Linked DNA regions of Homo sapiens: region 2 is linked to region 1. Evidence: promoter capture Hi-C in 16 types of primary human blood cells and fetal thymus (Javierre and others, 2016). All regions are on one chromosome and are shown on one strand. The core of a region is centred on a gene start or on the middle of the fragment in contact, and the rest is flanking DNA. Distances in the headings are between cores, read along the strand shown.

The links. Contacts are between HindIII fragments. The CHiCAGO score rates a contact against its expected background, and 5 or more counts as called.
Region 2: a contact is called between a fragment that was not itself captured here and the fragment with the promoter of ZC3H7A in region 1, in 1 of 17 cell types (neutrophils). The highest score is 5.1, in neutrophils.

Annotation. Positions count from the first base shown.
Region 1 is chr16:11,795,580-11,798,672 of GRCh38, forward strand. ZC3H7A (zinc finger CCCH-type containing 7A) reads right to left here and starts at 1,679. Exons shown (of 23, transcript NM_014153.4): 1 at 1,545-1,679. RefSeq lists silencers at 911-1,070, 1,553-1,962 and an enhancer at 1,378-1,915. The HindIII fragment of the contact is 5,880 bases long and covers 1-3,093 here.
Region 2 is chr16:11,403,905-11,406,773 of GRCh38, forward strand. It overlaps LOC400499 (putative uncharacterized protein LOC400499), which reads right to left. Exons shown (of 67, transcript NM_001370704.1): 48 at 800-962. Among named protein-coding and RNA genes, the nearest start is that of RMI2, 60 kb to the left of the region's middle. The HindIII fragment of the contact is 554 bases long and covers 1,031-1,584 here.

The sequences.
Region 1 (3,093 bases), core at 429-2,928:
CGCCTGCCACCACGCCTGGCTGATTTTTGTATTTTTACTAGAGACGGGGTTTCTCCATGTTGGCCAGGCTGGTCTCGGAATTCCTGACCTCAGGTGATCCACACACCTCGGCCTCCCAAAGTGCTGGGATTACAGACGTTGAGCCACCCCGCCCGGCCCGTATATGTCATTTTAAATTTCCAAATAGCCACACTAAAAAAAGAGAAAAAGAAAAGCAGTGAGATTAACTTTTGTTTTTTTATTTGTTTGTTTTGAGACAGTGTCCCAGGCTGGAGCACAAAGGCACAATCTCAGCTCACCGAAGCCTCAATCTCCTGGGCTCAAGGGATTCTCCCACCCCAGCCTTCCGAGTAGCAGATTCTCCCACCTCAGCTTCCCGAGTAGCTGACTACCGGCGTGCGCCACCACGCCCAGTTAATTTTTTGTATTTTTTGTAGAGACAGGGGTCTCACTATGTTGCTGAGGCTGGTCTTGAACTCCTGCACTCAAACGATCCTCCTGCCTCAGCCTCCCAAAGTTTTGGGATGACAGGCATGAGCCACTGCATCCTGCCAAGATTAATTTTAATGATCTATTTTCGTTAATCCAATTTGTCCCAAACATGACCATCTCAACATGCATTTAAGTATAAAAGATTACCAATGACATCTTTTACTTTCTTTCTCATCCGAAGTTTTTAAAATCAGATGTACGTTTCACAGCTGGGACCGCAACTGAAACTGGCCCCATTTCGTGGGCTCCATCGTCCCAAACGGCGGGGGGTCAGTGGCCACCGTACTGGGCATGGCAAGGTCCTTCGTGGTTCAATACCGAACACGGGCAACTCCTTTTCATCCCTAGACAGGTGGGGACAGGAAAATACCCAACTCCTGGCAAATCCACCCAGTCCCGACTCAGGCTCGACCTCGGAGGCCCCGGCCGGGCCTCAGGCGGCCCCACCCCTTTGCTGCCCAGGCCTGACCGGAAGCCCCGCTAATGGGAACTGACAGGTCCCGGTCCCGGTCCTCCCGGGCGGCGCCCCCGCCTCCGCGGACCCCAAGGCCTCTCCCCGCCCGGCCCAGGGCTGCACCCCGCGCGAAAAAATAAAAAAATCAGAAAGGGGGGTAAAAAAGACGGATGAGCCCCAAATTAATGCGCCAAGCTCTCCGCCGGCATCCTTCCCGCCCCCAAGCCCAAGACGCTGAATCGGGATCCCCGCGATCACCAGAGCAGACAGAAATAACCAAAAAAAAAATTTTTTTTTAGTGAAATCACCAAAAAGGAGACATTTTGCCGAGGGAATGGCAGGCAGAAGTGGGTCACGTTATTCTCGGTGGGGGAAGGGGACGGCGCGCCCACCCGTCCCTCCGCGCGCACAGGCCCCGGCCCGGCTCCTCTCAGGGTCCTCTCGGGTCCGCGGGCCCCGGACCCCGCCGCCCCTCCCCCGCCCCGCCCGCCGTCCGTTAACGGCCGCGCGCGAGCACGAGGCGGCGGCGCGCGCGGGGGGGGCGGGGGCGCGGGCGCGCGCGTTTCCTTCATGCCCGGCGGCGTCCCCCTACCCCTACCTGTGGGGACGACGCGCCGGCCGGCGGCAGAAGGCAGGCGGAGGCGGGCGGCGGCAGGCGGGCAGCGGTGGCGGCGGCGGCGGCGGGGCCTGGGTGCTCGCTCGCAGCTCTCCCTCGGTTAGCGGCGGCGGCAGCGGCTCGGTTGCGCCCGCGGCGGCGCCCTCTAGCGGCGGGAGGCCGCGCTTGCCGCCCGGGAGACGCCGCCATTGGCTGCGCCGGAGCTACGGGCTGGGGGCGGTGGCGCCACGTCTGACTGGGGGCAGGGACCTGGGCGCGCCGTTCAATCCGGAGCCCCGGCGTCGACGCGCGGCCCACTGGGTGAGCCAATGGGAAGGCCACGTTGCGCACTGGACGCGCTCGGACTCAAGACTGATTAACCAGCACCGGGGTTTTCTGGGGCCTCGCCTGGGCCGCGGCCTGAGCAGAAGCGCTAGGAGGTAGAACAGCGTCCAGCGGGGAGAGGAGCTAGAGTCGGCATCGGGAAGCCCACCCTGGAGCCTGCTTAGCTTGACGAGCCCTCAACCGGGGCGCCCTGCTCTGCGAAGAGTAACCCTGCATCCTCAGAACAACCGTGATTGTCTTCATTCCTACATATGAGGAACGGAGGCGCGGAGCCCCACGGCAGCCGGGGATCCAAAGACAGCCTCCCTCCAGTTCCATCTGCCGGCTCTTGGAAGGCCTGGATCCCTGTCCTTCAGGGCCCAGCCCAAATGCCGCCTCGTCCATCTGCATTTTACGGCCAGGTGCCCCGCTGCGGGCACGGCTTCTTGTAAAATGCTCAGCTCAGCAGTGGGCGAGGCAGGGTCCCTGCCCCATGGGATGGAGGGCGGAGATCAGGACCCACAAGAGCCCAAAGAAGACCATTTTGGTCGGTGAAGACCAAAGAAATTCAAGCAGGAGGATGTGACAGGAGCTTTTGGGAAAGCCTCTGAGGAGGTGACAGCCATGCAACCGTGTTCGGGGAAGTGTGCCGCAGGCAGAGGGGAAATGAGTGCAAAAGCCCTGAAGCTGGAGTTCGGTGTCTGGATAACAGGAAAGGCCTGCATAGCTGATGTGTGCCAGAGGGGAGAAAGATCTGTGACACAGGGGGGCCGCCATGTTTAATTTGGAGTTTTGTGTGGAAGGGGGTCATTCATTGAGTCTGAATTGGGAGTTCCGAGGTCTCATTTATATTTTAGAAAGTTCTCTCCTGCTACTATGCAGAGATTGGGCTGTAGGAGAGACAAGAGGGGAAGTGGGGACTCTAGCTACAGTAGCTCTTCCAGGGGTCTGGGTGACGTAGATTTACAAACCAGAGTATTAGCTCAGGCTGCCATGACAAAATACCCCAGACCAGGCAGCTTAGACAACAGGAATTTATTTTCTCACAGTTTTAGAGGCTGCAAATCTAAGGTCTGGGTGCCGGCAGGGCTGGTTTCTGGTGAGGCCTCTCTCCCTGGCTTGCAAACAGCTGCCTTCTCACTGTGTCCTCCTATGACCTTTTCTCTGTGAGCAGGAATCCCTGGTGTGTCTTCCTTTTTCTTACAAGAACAACAATTTTACTAGATTA
Region 2 (2,869 bases), core at 58-2,557, 390 kb before region 1:
GCCCCAGCTCCTCTCTATGAGCTGAGACGCTGCATGACCTGGGTCCCCCAGCCCTCCTGCCTCGCCTCATCCCTTCTCCCCATTCCAGCCATGCTAGCCCCGCAGCTGCTGCTCCACATGCAAACCTCATTTCCAAGTGGGGCCTTCCGCCTGAAGTGCCTCTGCTCAGATCTGCCAGCTCCTTCTCATCCTTCAGAACTCAGTTCAGAAGTCACCTCCTCCAAGAGGCCTTCCCAGACCACCCCACCTAAAGGAGGCCCACACCCCACAAAGACCCTGCTTGCTCTCACAGCCTTTCCCACTCGTGGAAATGGTCATGCTTGACGTTATTTTGCTTATGTGCATCTTGTTGCTCAATGCCTGTCTCCCTGAGGGGTGACACCTGGGCCATCTTGCTTCCTGATGGACCCCTGGTGCCTAGATTACACCTGGGATATGCAGGTGCTCAGTCATGGCTTTTTTGAGACCGAGTCTCACTCTCGCTCAGGCTGGAATGCACTGGCTCAATCTCGGCTCTCTGCAACCTCTGCCTCCCAGGTTCAAGCGATTCTCCTGCCTCAGCCTCCCAAGTAGCTGAGATTGTAGGTGCCTGCCACCATGCCTGGCTAATTTTTGTATTTTTAGTAGAGATGGGGTTTCACCATGTTGGCCAGGCTGGTCTCAAACTCCTGACCTCGAGTGATCTACCCACCTCGGCCTCCCAAAGGGCTTGGATTACAGGCATGAGCCACCGCGCCTGGCCAGGGATGATTTCTTGAGTGACTGGGCCACCCCTGCCTGCAGCCCCTCACACACTCACCCTGCAGGCTGAGGTTCCTGGTGGGCTTGGGGAAAGGCCCAGAAAGGCTCCCGGTGAGGGCCACCTCCTGGCCATCCCACAGCACCACCTGGCGCAGGACACGGGTCCCATGAGCTCGCTCGTATGCGGTCTGCAGGAACAGCTCCCTGGGAAGAGCGCTGAGCTGGAAGAGAATGACGGCGTCATGGGGGAACCCGACCCATGCTTCTGCCTGGGATGGGAAAGAAGAGAAGCTTGCAGAGGAGGAAAAAGGGAATATTTGTGGATCATTTACAGTTTCCTGAATGGTGACATATGTCAGGGGATCAAAAACCCAAATGCTTCCTAAGGATGAGCAGATAATTTAAAGGAGAGGAGTAGGTGAGGGGAGTATGGCCAACAGGAGACAGCACAGAACAGCCACTTCTCAATTCCATGGCCAAGCTGTGTGGCTCTGGGCATTTTTCAACCTCTCTGAGCCTCAGTTTCCTAGAAAATGGAGGCCAGAAAGTGTCAACCTTTGCAAGATGATACAAGTGGTGCACTCAGCCCAGGGCTACACGGTGGAGAGGAGCTTGTAGGAGGCACGCAGTTGGTATTGCGGTTTCTCAATCATGTAGCGAGCAGGTATCATGCTCCCAAGCCAGTGCTGAGTGCCTGGGTACAAAGCTAGCCAAGACCTGGTCCTGGCCCTTAAGGGGCTCCCAGGGAGATAGTCGAGATAGTCACAGGACAGAAAATGATGGGATAAGGTGACAAGGATGGTCACAAGAGACATTCAAGGGAGAAAGGAACGCAGAGAAGCAAGCTTGGGGAGGAGGCAGGGAAGAGCATTCTAGGCAGATGGAAGAGCCTGTGCAAAGGTTCGGAGAGGGACGCCGTCCCTGCTGGTGGGTGCCACAGTCCGAGGGTGACTTGAGGGCACTGCAGGGGGACTGCTGGGGTGGGGAAGGAAGTTTGCTCTTAAACGTCTCTAAAACCTATCACTACTGCCCCCAGCTTGGTCCACGCATTATTATTGCCCTGCCCCTGCCCATTATGGGGCTTCCTCACTGCTCACTTCTGCCACCTGTAGGTCCCTCCCCACACAGCAGCCAGAGGGATCTGAAATCATCATTTATTTGATCATGGCTTCAAAGGCTTCTAGTAGCAGATAGAACACAATGCAAACGCCTCCCTGTGGCCTGACTGACCCTGTGTGATCAGACCACCTCCTACCATTCCCCACCCACCCAGCTCCAGCCCAGTGGCTCCTTGGCCATTCCTAAAACATGCAAACCCATCCCTGCCCCAGGCCCTTTGCATGTCTTGTTCCCTCTGCCTGGAATACTCTTTTTAAAAAATGTATTTTAGATTGAGGGGGTCAGTGTGCATGTTTGTTACATAGGTATATTGTGTAATGGTGGGGACTGGGCTTCCAGCGTCCCTGTCACCCAAATATCGAACATCATACCAGGCAGGTAATTTTCCAACCCTTGGCTCCCTCTCACCCTCCTCCCTTTTGGAGCCCTCAGTGTTTACTGTTTCCATCTTTATGTCCATGTGTATTCAATGTTTAGCTCCTGCTTACAAGTGAGAACATGTGATACTGGGTTTTCTGTTTCTGAGCTAGTTCACTTAGGATAATTGCATCCCTGCTGCTGCAAAGGACAGAATTTCATTCTTTTTTCCGGCTGTGTAATATTCCATGGTGTATATATACCACAGTCTCTTTACCTGCCTCGAATGCCCCTCCCCCAGAGATTTCTTTTTTCTTTTCTTCCTTTTGAGATGGAGTTTCACTCTTGTCACCCAGGCCGCAGTGCAACGGCGCAATCTCGGCTCACTGCAACCTCCACATCCTGGGTTCAAGCAATTCTCCTGCCTCAGCCTCCAAAGTAGCTGGGATTATAGGCATGTGCCACCACGCCTGGCTAATTCCATATTTTTAGTAGAGACGGGGTTTCCCCATGTTGGCCGTGCTGGTCTCGAACTCCTCACCTCAGGTCATCCACCCGCCTCGGCCTCCCAAAGTGCTGGGATTACAGGCGCGAGCCACCGTGCCCGGCCTTCCCCCGGATTTTCAAATGGCTGGTGCTTATCATCCACCGC